6 separate regions of the Homo sapiens genome follow, and all the other regions are linked to region 5. Evidence: promoter capture Hi-C in 16 types of primary human blood cells and fetal thymus (Javierre and others, 2016). All regions are on one chromosome and are shown on one strand. The core of a region is centred on a gene start or on the middle of the fragment in contact, and the rest is flanking DNA. Distances in the headings are between cores, read along the strand shown. Region 1 holds the start of PFKFB2 (6-phosphofructo-2-kinase/fructose-2,6-biphosphatase 2). Region 2 overlaps LOC107985251 (a long non-coding RNA gene). Region 3 overlaps C4BPA (complement component 4 binding protein alpha). Region 4 has its middle 19 kb from the start of C1orf116. Region 5 holds the start of CR1 (complement C3b/C4b receptor 1 (Knops blood group)). Region 6 overlaps C4BPB (complement component 4 binding protein beta).

The links. Contacts are between HindIII fragments. The CHiCAGO score rates a contact against its expected background, and 5 or more counts as called.
Region 1: a fragment that was not itself captured here is called in contact with the fragment with the promoter of CR1 in region 5 in 6 of 17 cell types (total B cells, M0 macrophages, M2 macrophages and 3 more); the score reaches 9.4 in total B cells.
Region 2: a contact is called between a fragment that was not itself captured here and the fragment with the promoter of CR1 in region 5, in 3 of 17 cell types (M2 macrophages, total CD4 T cells and total B cells). The highest score is 7.5, in M2 macrophages.
Region 3: a contact is called between a fragment that was not itself captured here and the fragment with the promoter of CR1 in region 5, in 4 of 17 cell types (naive B cells, naive CD4 T cells, total B cells and 1 more). The highest score is 7.6, in naive B cells.
Region 4: a contact is called between a fragment that was not itself captured here and the fragment with the promoter of CR1 in region 5, in 5 of 17 cell types (fetal thymus, naive CD8 T cells, total B cells and 2 more). The highest score is 6.3, in fetal thymus.
Region 6: a contact is called between a fragment that was not itself captured here and the fragment with the promoter of CR1 in region 5, in 10 of 17 cell types (M1 macrophages, naive CD4 T cells, monocytes and 7 more). The highest score is 8.3, in M1 macrophages.

What each region holds. Positions count from the first base shown.
Region 1 is chr1:207,052,997-207,055,696 of GRCh38, reverse strand. It overlaps PFKFB2 (6-phosphofructo-2-kinase/fructose-2,6-biphosphatase 2), which reads right to left and starts at 2,422. Exons shown (of 15, transcript NM_006212.2): 1 at 2,331-2,422; 2 at 895-996. The coding sequence starts at 979. It also overlaps a transcript of YOD1 not described here. RefSeq lists an enhancer at 2,492-2,700. The HindIII fragment of the contact is 2,737 bases long and covers 1-2,689 here.
Region 2 is chr1:207,154,629-207,157,328 of GRCh38, reverse strand. The region is part of intron 1 of LOC107985251 (a long non-coding RNA gene); the gene reads left to right. Among named protein-coding and RNA genes, the nearest start is that of C4BPA, 52 kb to the right of the region's middle. The HindIII fragment of the contact is 807 bases long and covers 1,007-1,813 here.
Region 3 is chr1:207,115,517-207,118,216 of GRCh38, reverse strand. All of the region lies in intron 4 of C4BPA (complement component 4 binding protein alpha), which reads right to left. Among named protein-coding and RNA genes, the nearest start is that of C4BPA, 13 kb to the right of the region's middle. The HindIII fragment of the contact is 250 bases long and covers 1,208-1,457 here.
Region 4 is chr1:207,012,482-207,015,181 of GRCh38, reverse strand. No RefSeq gene overlaps it. Among named protein-coding and RNA genes, the nearest start is that of C1orf116, 19 kb to the left of the region's middle. The HindIII fragment of the contact is 2,430 bases long and covers 131-2,560 here.
Region 5 is chr1:207,494,751-207,497,450 of GRCh38, reverse strand. It overlaps CR1 (complement C3b/C4b receptor 1 (Knops blood group)), which reads right to left and starts at 1,294. Exons shown (of 47, transcript NM_000651.6): 1 at 1,063-1,294. The coding sequence starts at 1,183. The HindIII fragment of the contact is 13,119 bases long and covers 1-2,700 here.
Region 6 is chr1:207,098,611-207,101,310 of GRCh38, reverse strand. It overlaps C4BPB (complement component 4 binding protein beta), which reads right to left. Exons shown (of 7, transcript NM_001017365.3): 7 at 1,318-1,522. The coding sequence ends at 1,382. Among named protein-coding and RNA genes, the nearest start is that of C4BPA, 4.3 kb to the left of the region's middle. The HindIII fragment of the contact is 1,310 bases long and covers 645-1,954 here.

The DNA of each region.
Region 1 (2,700 bases), core at 72-2,571, 440 kb after region 5:
TGCTGAGATATATATATTCCTTGACTAACTGGCTATATATATATATATATATATAACCACTGAAGTGAGAAGAACTGACTGACAGGATTCTGCAGGAATGGTGCCATCCAGAAGCAGAGGCAAGAGTTAGCATTCCTTGAAGTTCCCCAAAATATGTGGGGAACAGAGTCCCAGATCTTTTGGGAAGCTATGCAGCCTATGATGCTTAGAAATACAGATGCTTGGGGACAGGAAATGATGCTTCATCTCCTCGCAAACCCTCCTGCTGTTTCTATCTAAAAGACAGGCATAGAAATGAAAATGCTCATGTGAAAGCTGTCCTCAAAAAAATGAACCTATAGGGAAAATAGTTTACAAAGTACAAAGGCTAAACCTGTGAGAAAGTAAGATGCCCAAGACACTGTGAGAAGCCAAGTGTCAGGGCTCATTCCCCTCAGGCCTGTAGGAAGGAAACCAAGCAGCACTGGCTCCCATCTGCAATTTCTACAATGAGCAGCACTCTCCCAAAACTTAGCCCAACAGATAAAGCTGGTAACATTACCAGCTCCAAGTAATTCCTGCACCTGCAACTGTGCCTTACTCATTGTGTGTACAATAATGTTAGTTCTAACTTCCATCAGCAAGCCAGTGTGCAAACATCCCAGGAGACAGAGATTCAGTTTAAGAAAGCAGTAAGAAACTGCTGGACTACACCAGTAGTCAAGCCCCAAGAACAGACATTTCACTAAGTCTACTTGTTTTAGACAGGACATTCTACCCTGGAGACTTTGCATTAAATTTCCATGTCAAATAATTATTTATCACTCCCACCAAGCAGCAGAGTCCAGGATTATAACTATATTCCCAAGATAAAATGCTGAGAGAGAGCAGTCCCTCCTCTCTGCCAGAACTCACAACATTTCTTCTCTGACATTCGAAGATTTGGGGTTTTGGTTTCATAGCTGTTGTTGTTCTGTTCTGAGGAAGATGCCCCAGACATGGCAGCTCTTCAGATGTCTGAAACAGAGAAGTAGAATGTAAAAAAGGGAAGGGGAAGAAAGAAGACATAACTTAAAAAAAGTCAGTGCATTGGATCCGTGTGGTATAAGTAAAAACACCCTGGGCCAAGAGGCAGGTTCAGTCCTGTTTCTCCCAGTTAGCAGCTACTTCTCTAGCCCTCTGTTTCCTCACCTATAAAAAGAGTTGCACTAGAACCTTACATTTATCTTCTGACTTACGAGTCTACATTTACAGACGTTATCTTCTTCAGTCCTAACAATAATCTTGTAATTAGGCAGATTTTGCCACCATTATTTCTTCTCATTTTACAGATTGAAAATTTGAGATTCATCGAATTAAGTGTCCTGCTCAAGGTTTCATGACCTCAGATTCTAGTTTTAAGAATCTGGGCAGAGTAGTGGCAGCAGTTGGGGTGGGGTGGGTTATGTATAGACGAAGTACATTACCAGGAAATTAACTCCAATCTAACGGTAGGACTCAGTTTTGCAAACAGTGAGGCCGGGCACGGTGGCTCACTCCTGGAATTCCAACACTTGGGGAGGCTGAGGCGGGCGGATCAAGAGGTCAAGAGATAGAGACCATCCTGGCCAACATGGTGAAACCTCGTCTCTACTAAAAATACAAAAATTAGCCGGGCCTGGTGGTGCGCGCCTGTAGTCCCAGCTACTCGGGAGGCTGAGGCAGGAGAATCGCTTGAACCCGGGAGGCGGAGGTTGCAGTGAGCCAAGATCCCGCCACTGCACTCCAGCCTAGCGACAGAGCGAGACTCTGTCAAAAAAAAAAAAAAAAAAAATGAAAAATGAAAAAGAAAGAAAGAAAAGAAAAAAGTGAGGGACGTGGGAAAATCTCGAACATATTCCCTGAAGGAAAAACAGTAACTGGACCCCAAGACAGCCCTAGCACGTCGTCATTTCTCCTCTAGTGCATTCTCAAGCCCTGCTCCGCACCCTCTCCCTAGTTACCCCCGGGACTCAGTCTAAAGAACGCCGGAGCGCTGAGGTGGTAAATGACTTCCCCAAGGTCACCTCAGGAAGAGGGGTAAGCCCTGATTCAAACTGGAGTGGGAAAGTCCTGAGCTCATGCCCCCAATTCAGACAACAGGGGGCTGGTGAGGACGGAAGATCCTGCGCCTTCAAGAGCCTTACACGATTCCTTTACTGACCACACAAATCCTCCAACCCAAACACAGACTGTGGCTCCCGGTCCCAGAACGTCCGCGCTGCCTGCCATGCCTGGGGACCAGCACCTCTCCCCGCACTTCATCCGGGGGCACGCAGCCCCCACATCCCGCCCCGCTAGACCCTACCCGGGGCTGCGCAGCTGTGGCTCACCCTACGATCTCTCCTAAGATCCCTCCCTGCCTTGGCCCCGGCGCCTGCCCTGTAACGCGACCGAACCGAGCCGACAGCTTGTGGCCGGGACCGGCGCTACAGTCGCCGGCAAATCATGTGAGCCCGTCTGGCCCCGCCCCCTCGCGCGTAGGTCCTCACCTGGAGAGAATCATCCACCAATCGGGCGCCTGCAGGACCCAGGGGGCGGGGCAGGGTCGCAATCGCCTAACTGGCTCGGGAAGGCGGCTGGAAGTCGGAACCAGAGAGATCACAAGCTCCTGAGTTTCCCAGCGCCGAGGAGCCTGGTGGCACTGTTGCTTGGTAACTAATAGGGCTGGGGGCGGTGTTAATAAAAAGCTTGACTTTTTTC
Region 2 (2,700 bases), core at 161-2,660, 340 kb after region 5:
AGCACTAGGAAGGGTAATTCCTAAATTCAGAGAAATATTAGAAAATAGCATCCCCCTTTTATAGTGCCCATAAATATAAAATGGTAATGGAATCAAAATAGTCTCTCTTTAGTTATAACTTTTTTAGGGCAGAGCCGAGCCTCTAGCTTTCCAATTGCTTTCTCCCCACAATTATTAAACCTGACATAGAAAGAATTCACTTCGTTTTAATTTATTTTCTTGTGGTCAAAGAAGAATATTTGGCAGCAGGGGTTTCGTAGTTGACTTTTCTCAGGCTCAACTAAACTTTAGCACCAGATTCACATTCCAAATAACCTATACATTTTTTACTCCTGGTGTAATTATTCAGCACCACTGTGGGTGAACTTCTGAAGGAAATATATGAACTAGTTAGTCATAGTGTAAAGAAAAACATTTAACTTAAAGCAAGGAGACAAACGCAACTGCTGTGTCTTTTAGGGATAGGAGCAATCATTTCAGGAAAGAAAGTTCTCTCGATGTTGATAGTGCAAAAGTAATGTGGTGATGGAAATAGACTGAGGAATAGAGGGGGAAACAGAATTTTAAAAAGTACAGAAGCAGTAATTGCCTCATCTTGCACAGGAGAAATTTAAGTTGTAAACTCAAGTTGTAAACAGGCAAAAAAAACCACAGAAGTTCCTTCTCTGGAGCAACTGGACAGCAACAAAGAAGACACCTATAAACATCAGTATTTGGATATTCATTGTCCTATACTTGTCATGAGATAGGACAACCAAAAACTCAATGGCTCAGAGCAGGTAGAACTTTATTTTTCTTTCAAAAACAGTTCGGAGGCAAAAACCCAGTCAGGATGGAAGGCAGTACTGCTCAACATGGTCAACTAGGGACTAGGGCCTTTTCTCCTTGTTGCTTTAATATCCCCTAGGATGCTGTCCTTCTCAAAAAGGCAGAAGCTGGCTCTCAGGCACCCTATCAGCATTTCAGCCCTCAAGAGTATGGAAGAGGAAGAGGAGAGCAAGAAGCTTCCTTTTTAAGAAGGTGACAAGCATGTTGCATTTATTGGGAGGTTGCTCCAAGGGAGGGACTAGTTGAGCAACACTGTGCCCTGCTGAAATGGTAGAAGTGGTTCTATTACTTAAAGTGAAAATAGAGGTTAATACAGGGAAACAATTAACACTCTCTGTTATAGCCACAAGTTAATTTAAAATGCCTCACTGTCCCATCAGGCTGCAAGTAAGCCTGCTGCCAGCAAAATTTGTTCACATACACAGAACTTTAAATGAGATTATTTAGGCCTTACTCTTAAAGAACAACTGCTGACCAATGATCATTAACAGAGGTTTGCAGGGAGCAAAATCATACTTCTCTATTGCAAAATAGCTCCATAGAGACAATAATGAATCTAGGTGGAAAGAACAGGATTACTATTTTTTTAAAAACAGAAAACAATTTTTAAAAATTCTTTGAAAAATGTTAGCAAGTGTTCTTAAAAGAAATTGAAAAATTCAGAAAAAAAATGAAGTCAAGGAAATCTCCAAAAAAATGTTTGGAGAATTGAAGGTAAGAATGAGGGCAGAAAACATAACTAAATCCAATAATTAACAAGGAGGTCCAATATCAAATGATTTTGGTTTCCATGAAAAGAGAAAACAGTGAAGAAATGTTACTGAAAACATTTTCTAAGAAAATTTCTCAGAATAATAAGAACATGAGTTTATAGTGTGAAAGAGCCCATCAAGAATTAGCATAATAAATAAAAATAAATCATACAGTAAAGTATACCAACATGATATTTTAGAACACCATGAGTAAAGATTGTATCCTAAAAGCTTCCAGCGTTGAGGAAAAGTCAGGTCAGAAATCAGGATGTCTTTTGACTTCTCAATAGCTGTATGGAATATATTAAAACAGTAGACAAATTCCTTTAAAATGAGAGGAAAAATTACACTTTACCCACCCTACTACACCCAGCCAAACTATCAATCAAGTGTGAAAATAATGACAGTTTCAAGAATATAGGAGTTCACTCAATAGCTTACTTCCTATACATCATTTCTTAGGAAGTTCCTGGAGGATGTGCTCCAATAAAATGAGGAAATAAGAAAGAGAACATGAGTCAACAAAGTAAAGACAGGGCAGGAAGGCGAGTCTACAGATATGAGAACATCCATTGCTTGTTGTAGTGTGTAGCAGCCCCTGTCAATGTCCTGTCAGTATCACCAGCGCCCTGCCACTTTAGCACACTCTAAACAACTTCCAACTGCCTATATCTGTTTCCTTTTACCCAGGCTTTTTCCACAACCATCGAAGGCTACTCTGATTTGCAATTAGCAGGATAAACTGAAGATAACACCTTGCAGAAGCAGATCTCAATTAACAACTGATGGAAGTATGTATAAATATCCCAGCTCCCTACCCTTAGCTATGATTACTCTGAGGTGCGAGTTCACCATCTTTATCAGTGTCCCTTGGGATGAGGCTGTGGTCATCCTAACTAGCTTGCTAACATATCCTTTTTGGTTGACTTTCCTTCCATATCTCACTGCCTTTCTCTCCTGGTGTTTCCTGCACCTCCTAAACAAATTACCTACATTTTAATTCTTGTTTCAAGGTCTGTTTCTAGGACTTTGGGAGAAAGACACACAAGAATAAGAAAGGAATTGATAAAGCATATGATATCTCAACATTTGGAATAGATTTGGTAGACTGAAAAATCTC
Region 3 (2,700 bases), core at 83-2,582, 380 kb after region 5:
AGACAGATGATAGATAGATAGATGATAGATAGATAGATATAGATAGATAGACAGACAGACAGACAGACAGACAGACAGACAGATAGATGATAGATAGATGATAGATAAACTAGTTACAATACAAATTGGATAAATAATCCATTTAAAATACCAAAAACATTTTTTGTTTGGTTTTGCCAGAGGTTTAAACTCTTCAAGAAATGCAAAATCTATGTGAGGAAAGCTGAAACACACATGAAGAAACAAGGAAAAAAAGACTAAGACGAACTGAGGAAAGCATAGCAAAGGGTAGCAGAATATGCCAAAATAGACCAGTTTGGCATAAAGATTGTTTTTTGAGTTAAAAGCACTTGAAACACAGCAAGATGCAGGAAGGGCACTCTGACCTCCCCTTTTCTTCCTGAAGGCAGGACATGAAACTCTCACAGGAAAGATACCTTCCCTGTACCTGAAGGAAAAGAACACTCTTATCACCAGAGGCAGGGAGTCAAGGCCAAGAGAAATCTGTACAAAGAAACTTTGTACAAAGACCACTTTTTGGGTCTTCATTTTCCTGTGAAGTTTCCTATGTACTTGTTAAAATAAAACCTGTGTGCTTTTCTCCTGTTAATCTGTTTCATGTCAACTTAATTCTCAGGCCTGGTGGAGACCCTAAGAGGGTAGAGGAATAGTTTTGCCTTCTCTACGGTAACATATTCTTAACTAGAGAGAGTCAACATTATAAAATATCTATTCTCCTAAAGTTAATTTTACCAGTTTATTTTTCGAGATGAGGTCTTGCCCTGTCACCCAGGTTGTAGTGCAGTGGCACTATCATGGCTCACTGCAGCCTCGACCTCCCAGGCTCAAGTGATCCTGCCACCTCAGCCTGTTGCATAGCTGGGACTAGAAGTGCGTGCTACCACACTCGGCTAATGTTTTTAATTTCTTGTAGAGACAAGGTCTCCCTGTGTTGCCCGGGCTGGTCTCGAACTCCTGGACTCAAGAGATCTTCCCACCTTGGTCTTCCAAAGTGCTGGGATTACAGGTGTGAGCCACTGCACTTCACCTAAAATTAATTTTAAAACTAATCTAACACTGATTTTAAAATATGTCTAACTTTAAAGTTCTTATAGAAAAATAAATACATACTGTCAGGAAAACTTCAAAAAAGAAGAGCAATAAGATAGCTCTACCCATATTGGCTATTAAAACATATTATAAAGCTTCAATTATTAAATGACTGTGAAACGCATACATAAATGTACAGGAAAAATACGGGCATTGAATAGAAAGTCCAGAAATAGACCTAGATAAGTATATGAATTTTATATAATATCAAAGAGCATCTTAAATCAGTAAAGGCAAACTTTTAAATAAGTGGTGTTGGCGTAACAGGAAAGCAATATGAAAAGATATAGTCTAAAATCTGTACCTCATACTGTATACTGTATATTAACTCCAAATAAATTAAAGCTTTGAATATTAAAAAATATGAAAATATAAAAGAAGTAGAGGAAATATAGGCGATTTTTTTTAAACCTTATATTGGGGAAGGCCTTAGGACATAAAATCCAAAAGCCATTTCTAAAAGGGAAATTGATGAATTTAACAACATAAATACAAATAATTTCTCCTTAAGGGGAAAAAATACCAATAGCCAAGTCAAAAACATTATACACACACACACACACACACACACACACACACACACACACACATATACACACACACACACACACTGTGGGAAAAGTTACAGTATATATCAGAATCAAGGCCTAAATCCTGCAATGCACAGACTCATGTGTATGTCTAAATGTATACATCCTAAAACTTAAGAATAAAAAGTTCAACAAGTTAAGGAAAAAAAACAACAACCAGGCATCAGACATGCTAACTAGTGCACAAATAAATACAAACATCCCCTGGACATATAAAACTATACTTAACCTCCCTGACAATAAGAGAAATGTACAGTGAAACTATAGTGAGATTTTATTTTCACCTCTTACATTGGGAAAAATTCAAAAATTTGACAAGTTTTCGAAAGTTTGACAACACAGTTGGAGAGTTTGTGGAGAGACAGACATTTACATACTCTGCAAAACCATGAAACCCTTAGGGAAAGCAGTCTGACAATATCTTTCAAATTTTCAAATATACATACTCTTTGAGCCAGAAAGGCCTCCTCTAGGAAGCTATCCTGCAGATGTAACTACATATGTATAAAATGACACACATACAAGAGAATACTTCAGAGCATTGTTCAGAATAGCAAAAGATTAGAAACATCCATGGATCCATCACAAGGACGGCAAAGCCATGACACAACTACACAACAACATTCTATGCAGTTGTAAAAAGAAATTAATGAGGAAACTCTCTATGCGCAAACATGGAAATATCTCCAGTATACATTGATAAGTAAACAATAAAGCAAGATTCAATACTAGGTTCATTAGAGGAAAGGGGGGAAAATAAGAATATATGCTAACTTCTTAGCTTGTATTTATATAAGGAAACACTAGAAAGATATATACGAACCAATAAAAATAGATCTTTGCTTGAGGACGGGAAGGAATGTGGTGTATGGAGATAGGATGGAAATGAGAATTCTCAACGTCTATCTTTTTACATCATTTTAAATTTTGAAATATACGAACACTTCAGCTATTTTTTAAATAAATATAAAAGAATTGTTCATAGATTACCTCACACTCA
Region 4 (2,700 bases), core at 96-2,595, 480 kb after region 5:
AGGAACTGGGCATCCCAAGTAGGATCTTATCAAGACTGAAGATCCCCTCTTTTCATGTCCACTTCAACTAAACATTTATTGAGTCCCTCTTAGAACCAAGAATTCTCATGTTCAGTATCTCAAGTAAGCTTCATAACAGCCCCACACATTTCTATCTAACTCTCTGTCAATTAGGGAACCAAGACACAGACAGTTTACTCAACTTGCCCAAGTTCATAAGTTAGTAATTATTGGAGTCATGGATTTGAACTTGGGTTGACCTCTCAGCAAGGCCAGTGCTGTTTTGCTATTACAAATCTGCCATATAAAAACAATTTCACTGACACCGCAAACAACAAAGATAGAATTACCCATGTTTTACACATGAGGAACATGAGTTTCAGAGAGCTCATGGGGTTACAATAAGTAAAACTAGAGACAGAATCACGGCCCCTGGTTCAGCACACTCATTCGTTTCTCAGTTTCCTGAGTTCAAACCCTCTATCCAATATTAGGAAAACAAAGATAAATAAGACATACCCAGAAAATGAAGGAGCTCATAGTCTAGCAAGAGAGACAATAAGGTATGATTATATTCAAGATATAAAGATATAGAACCATAGAGGGTAGGGATCTAAGAGAGGAGGGGAAAGACCTGGAAAGAAGAGGTGTTCCAGACAGAGGAAACAGCATGTGCCAAGAAAGCACAAAGAAGTGTGGTGTATCTGGAGAACTGTCTGTGATGTACAGTGCCCAGGGATGAGGCCAGAGGAGCAGGCAACAGGAGACTGTGGAGGGCCTATGTGCCATGCAAAACAGTCTGATCTCTATCCTGTGAGCAGTGGAGAGTCAATGGGAGATTTAAAGCAGGGAAGTAGCAAGGTCAAAATTGCATTTTGTAAAGGCTCTGGCCAAGGCTGTGGATAATGGAACATACTGCAATGATACTACAACAAAGAAACGAGCTAGAAGCCTTTATCAGTCAAAGATGCTTTTGGCTGCAAGTAACAGAACCCTCTGTGGCTTAAATAAAAGGGGATTTATCTTTTTCTCCCATACTGGGAAATATGAGGGTAGGTGGCTATGGGCATTGTTCAGGGCAGAGGCACAGGAATTCTCTTTGCCTTCCTTCTGCAATTGCGAGATGGTGGCTCCAGTCATATTGCTGGCATTCAAAGGATTAAGAAGGGAAAAAATACTGGGAGCATCCATATCTGTCTTTTTAAATAAGAAAGCAAAGTCTTTCCCAGAAACTTCTGAACAGACTTTCTTTTCTGTCTCATTGACCAGAATTACGTCACAAGCCATCTCTGGCTGTAAGAAAGCCTGTCTTGTCCTCTCTAATAGAGGCCAGCCTGGGAGAAGGGGGTGGATGTGAGTCTTCTGCTAGCTAATCCACAATGCTCCCAACAGTCCAAGTGAGAATTTAAATAAATCAGTGAAGATGGAGGTGGTGCACAATTCTAAATGTGCCCACAAACCAACCAGCAGCTTAGTGACTGACTGGATGTAAAGACTAAAGGAGAAAGAGGAGCTCAAAATGATGCCCACATTGCTGGTCTGAACAAGTAGACAGAATTCATGAATGTGCTATAGGGGTAGGACCAGGAAGAAGGGAGGTTTGGTTTGGGGCATACGGAGTTTGAGGTTGCTGTGGGACTTCTAAGTTGACATGGCCCCTGGCAGGTAGACTGCGGGTCTGCAGTTCATGGGGGAGAAGCGATAACAGAGCCACTAAATGTAGGTGACAGTCGATCATGAGCATGGATAAGGCTGTCTAGGGAGGATGGGTAGAATAAGAAGAACAGAGCTCATGGATGGATCTCTGGGGCACACTGACATCTAAAGGGAGGTAAATAAAGAGAAGTCCAATGAGAAAACTGCACCCCCAATTTCTACTTGATCACTGTTCTGTCTAGTATCTCTCAAATTAAAAAATTAACAACAACAACAACAAAATTAAAACCTTCCTTAACCCCACATCTTCTAGAGCAGAGTTGTCCATCAGAAATTTCAGCAATGATAAAACTATGCTCTATCTGCTCTGCCCAATTGAGTAGCTGCTCCTCACATGTGGCCCTCAAGCACTTGATATTTGGCTAGTGTGACAAAGAACTAAATGTCTAATTTTATTTAATTTTAATTAACATAAACTTACATTTTTTAATTAGGCAAGTGGCTCTGGTGTTGGACAGCACTGCTCTAGCACCCTAGCCATCTCTCTGCTCCCCTCTGGAAATGTCCCTTGAAATAAACACAACCTCTCCTTTCTCACCTGAACCTCACTCCTCCTCCCGCTTCAACCAAGCATCTTTCCCCTCCATGCCCCCAAGACCATGTTGTCAGAGTTACCAATGACATCCATGTTGGCAGATCCAGTAGTCTGCTTTACTCGCATTTACTTTATTTCTCTGCACATTTGACACAATTGACGACTCCCTTCATTTTGAAACACTGACTCCTGGGTACTGTGTACTCCTCCTCAGGATCTTTTGCCTTCTCATCCTCTTGGGCCTCAGGGCTCTCTCCTGTGCCCCCTTCTCAGATCTGTCTTCATGTTCTCCTTTAAATGCATCAAGCTTGTCCCAGCTCTGGGACTCTACCTTGGCTGTTCCTTCTCCTGGAGTTCTTTTCTCCTCGTCTTTACGTAGCTAGTTCCTTCTCATCCTTTACGTTTTAGATTAAATTTCAGATTTTCTGAGAGGCCTTTGCTGAATGATC
Region 5 (2,700 bases), core at 45-2,544:
GCGAACCCGGAGTTGTCAGGAATAGGCTGGACAAAAACAACCAAGACTGTCACTTCAAATGAGATGTTGCCAGTGAGTCTAGGCAACCAAGAAGACTTCTGGGGAGCCGAAAAATAATAATAGAAGGGTTCTAACTGAAGATGTTTACCTATTTGAAGTTAAGAAAAAGGAAGAGATGTGGCCTCAAAATTTCCATAATAATTATAATAGGCGTTATTTTGTACTAAACACATCACTAAAATGCGAACTGTAAACATATCTACTGTCCCTTCTACCTGCAACGGTTACATTGCATGTTCTGGGGCTTCCCTTGCTCTTCTAATCCGCAAGTGCCTGGCATGCATCTGTCTTAAAGTATGCTGTCAATTAAGTGCATGGTGATGATGGCCGTGGTGGCTTGGTGTGGGGGGCGAGGACAGTTCCATGCGGGGCAGTTGTCAGGTAACACCTGCATCCCTAGGACTGCTTGTCTAAACACCATTGGGAGCAAAGTACAGAGGTAACGGTTGGGGGATAGAAATGGACTCGGGGACACATAGCCCTGTGTTAGATACTCGACAGGCTTAATGCCACTGAGGCAGCAACTCCACGATGCAGAGATACCAGTGTCCCCATTTTACAGAAGAGCAAACAGACTCAGGTGTGCTAAGTTGCCTCACAGTTAAGTTTCTAGGACCAGAACTCAGGTTTGTCGGATCCCCAAGTTCCCTTTCACTAGGATCAACGCCACGTCTTGGCTATAGCCAGCCGAGGCTGTGAATACACAAAGGCAAGGAATTTCGTGCGGCACCCGCTCAGCATCTGCGCCTTCCACTGCGCTCGTCACGACTTAAGCCCCTGCACCTGGGAACTCCACGCTTACCCAGAAGCAGCGAGGGTCTCCAGTGCGCAGAAGGATCCTACACCCGCCGCCCTGCCGGGTCGCGCGCTCAGCCCACCCATCGCGCTGCCTTCGGACCCGGGCGCGCAGAGCAGCGCAGCTCAGCGCTGCACGCGAGTTCTCTGCGGGGCCCCGGGTTCCTCGTCCGCCCGGGCGCCTCCCCACGCCCGCCCGCCTCTCACCCCAGGCCACCGGCAGCGCAAGCAGCACCACAACCGCCAGCAGGGATCCTCCGCAGCAGAAGGGGAGACCGGGCGCCGGCGGCCCGACAGGCTCCGGGCTTCTTGGAGAAGAGGCCCCCATTCTCCCCAAGCACATCTACAAACCAGATTTGATCTCGAAGAAAACTGAAATAAGAGGAAAAGCTCAGCGAAAATAGGAGTGACCAATCATTGTGCTCCGCGCCCAGAGTGTGGGGAGGGCTGCGGGGTTCCGGGACAAAATGCTTTTGACCACAGCTTCCCCTTCATGGGCGAGGTCATGTTTACTCCCCATTTGCATTGTTTCTAACGAGTTTCGCTGGCAGAGCCCACCTTGCTGACCCAGGTGCAGCAGCAGAGCTTGACAATGCTCGGGCTTCCGATGGATCCCGCGTGTGAGGCCCTGCGCTTCCAGACAAAGGCGGTGGATGATGGCAGCTCGCCTCCAAACACCCTGCTTAACTTTTCCTCTTTGCAAGAATGTGTGTGGGAAGGTCAGCTAATGAAATGCCTGCTCTCCGTGTTGAAGGGCAATTGCAGGCGATGTGTACGGTGTACAGGGAATGTGAAGAAACAATTTCCTTACCCTGAATTGAGACGTCATGCCATTGTAAGATTTTTTAAAAGGGAGGGACAATTAGATACACATTTAAAAAATGTAAATCTGTGTATAGTATGGAAGGTAGATTAGAATAGGGCAATAATGGACTGCGAAGACCAGTCAGGGGAGCTTTTGCCGACATCCAAGTGAGGTTTGATGGCGGCCCTGACTGGGTGGATAAAGTGGACAATTAACAAAGATATTGGAGATGGAATGAACAGTTGCTCATGTATTGGATTTTGGTTACTTCCTTTCTTAAGGTTGGTGGTGAGAAGAAAGCAATCAAGAGTTAGCCCCCTTGCGGTAGTTTGCTGAGAATGATGGTTTCCAGCTTCCACAATGAGAACACATGGACACAGGAAGAGGAACATCACACACCGGGGCCTGTTGTGGGGTGGGGGGAGGGGGGAGGGATAGCATTAGGAGATATACCTAATGTAAAGGACGAGTTAATGGGTGCAGCACACCAACGTCGCACATGTATGCATATGTAACAAACCTGCACGTTGTGCACATGTACCCTAAAACTTAAAGTATAATAAAAAAAAGAAACAAAAAAAAGAAAAAAGAAAGAAATAATTAAATAATTAAGTTTAAAAAAGGTAGAAAAAATAATATTTTATCTTTTTTATTGGGGGTGGCCTGTCCTTCTGACATGTACTGCCTGCCTGTAGGTAGGCTATTTTGCCTGGGTTTTTCTCTTAAAATAATTTTGACTTTAAACCTTGATTTTGTTGTTGTTGTTGTTGTTGTTGCTAATTTTATGTTAAACTTGTTTTCCTTAACCATTAAAAGGAGACATGATTCAGAAAAGAAAAAAAAAAAAGAGTTAGCCCCAGGATTAGAAATGAATGGTGGTGCTACTTACTGAAATAAGAAGTATGGATGTAGGACTGACAGATTTAGGGCAGAGGGTTAAGTATTCAAGGATGAATGTATTCCTCCTATCTATCTGTGATCCTGTGCCCTTTAACCAATCTCTCTCCATCTCCCATTGTCTCTCCCTTCCCCAGCCTCTG
Region 6 (2,700 bases), core at 50-2,549, 400 kb after region 5:
CGAGACAGCCTGACCAACATAGGGAAACCCCGTCTCTACTAAAAATACAAAATTAGCCGGGCATGGTGGCGCATGCCTGTAATCCCAGCTACTCAGGAGGCAGAGGCAGGAGAATCGCTTGAACCCAGGAGGCAGAGGTTGTGGTGAGCTGAGATCACGCCATTGCACTCTAGCCTGGGCAACAAGAGCGAAACTCCATCTCAAAAAAAAAAATTGGTTTTAAATCTTATTATTGTCTTACTCCATTTCTCAAATATTCTTTCCAACTGGAATGAGCTCTTTAATCTTTGTCTCTAATTCTCACTTACTTTTGAAGGCCCAAATAACTGTGACTTCTTCCTTGACAATATTCCTGCCTCCTCCTCCCAGACAGAAGTGAACCTCCTCTCATCTGAGCTCTCATAGCCCACTGTTGTCTGAAAATGTTTAGTTCATTCTAACCACTCTAAAATAATGCTACGTGTGTACATGTCTTGTGCCTATTAGTAGACTCTGGGGTACTCAAGAGTCCATCTCTTATTCCCCTTCATAACTTTACCTAGCGATTTTCCATTATTTCAAGCTGGCTTATATATTTTGGTTGCACTTTATCTAGATATCCTACGTGTTTCAGGTAGCAGTCAGGACGAGAGGTGGGAGAAGCTTGTCATGCCAGCTCAGTATGACATTTTGATTGAAAGCCTTAGGATTCTTATTTCTTCTACCCTCTAAAAAAGGAGAATTGTAAGTAAAAAATAATATAAAATTTTTGTTTCTAAAAAAGAGAAGAAATATATTCACTTGTGTTGCACCATCTCTAATTTATCATGCAGGACCAGGTTTCATTCAAGAGGCAGTAAGCAATTTTCCTGCAGCTTTGGAAACCTGTTTCCGTAAGCCAGATGTGGGCAAGACTGGGAGGAGAATTTGGGTCCTAGCTCTCCTTCTGTCCCAGTGGGTCATTTTTAAGGATGTAACTATTCTAAGCATCTTTTCCAAAATGGAAGGTTAATTTTTGCCTCATAAGTTGCGGTTAGTTTTGGTTTCATAATTCATGGTCTCATGTTAAAATACGAGTTACTCTCTCGGCTGAGATCAGAGTTTTCCATTCTCCTTACAGACTGGAAATTAAGCCCTCTATTCTCCAATAATATGTTGCTAATTCTGGCCTTAGACAACCACTACATTTGGCCTTTTCACATTCTGAGAACAACACACACACACACACACACACACATACACACACACACACACACACACACACACACACACACACATGGTGCATTATACAACTGCTGTTGGCAATTTCAGCCCAATAAGAGGTAAATCTGAAACCAATTTCAGAACCAAGAAGAAAATTTATTCATAGGTTTATTTCTATTACATCTGCTCAGCTGTAGTGTTACAACAATTTTGCCTTCAACTCAGCTTTCTTCAGCTCCAGAGAATATTTTAGCTCCTCCATTGTCATGCCACTTTCCTTTAATTGTTGCATAAAGTTCTCCATGGCTTCGCAGAGGTTCTTACTCTCCTGAAAGGCAAGCTGAAGAAAGAAAATTTTTCACAAGTTACAACATAAGGACTGAGACCCAGCTATATACTCTGAAGCCAGTGAGCAGCAGTTAGCTCTCTGAATGGGGGCTCAGAACCAGGCTAGCTTAAGTAAAGATTTGGGTTTTCAACATGGCAAATCATTTATATTTTCTGGCTTAAATATACTTATTAATATTATCCCAGTAATAAATATGAACTAAAAGAAGAATCTCAATGAAAATGGATCTGTTCAGTGTTGTTTGTTTAGTTTTGGAGCCTAGAAGAATTTTAGAGACTTTTCCAATTCTCACGCATTGTGCTTATGTGCTTTGCTCTATAACAGGGATCCCCAACCCCAGGGCCACAGACCGGTACCGGTCCACGGACTATTAGGAACTGGGCCACACAGCAGAAAGTGAGCAGCGGGCAGGCAAGCAAAGCTTCAGCTGTATTTATAGCCACTCTGCTTTGCTCACATTGCTGCCTGAGCTCCACCTCCTGTCAGGTCAGAGGTGGCATTAGATTCTCATAAGAGCGTGAAACCTATTGTGAACTGCTCATGCGAGGGATCTAGGTTGACCCCTCTTTATGAGAGTCTAATGCCTGGTAACCTGTCACTGTCTCCCATCACTCCCAGATGAGAATCTAGTGCCTGATGATCTGTCACTGTCTCCCATCACTCCCAGATGAGAATCTAATGCCTGATGATCTGTCACTGTCTCCCATCACTCCCAGATGAGAATCTAATGCCTGATGATCTGTCACTGTCTCCCATCACTCCCAGATGAGAATCTAATGCCTGATGATCTGTCACTGTCTCCCATCACTCCCAGATGAGATTCTAATGCCTGATGATCTGTCACTGTCTCTCATCATTCCCAGATGAGATTCTAATGTGTGATGATCTGTCACTGTCTCTCATCACTCCCAGATGAGAATCTAATGCCTGATGATCTGTCACTGTTTCCCAACACTCCCAGATGAGAATCTAATGCCTGATAATCTGTCAGTTTCCCATCACTCCTAACTAGATGGGACCCTCTAGTTGCAGGAAAACAAGCTCAGGGCTCCCACTGATTCTACATTATGGTGAGTTATATAATCATTTTATTATATATTACAATGTAATAATAATAGAAATAAAGTACACAATAAATGTAATGCATCTGAATCATCCCCAAACCATCC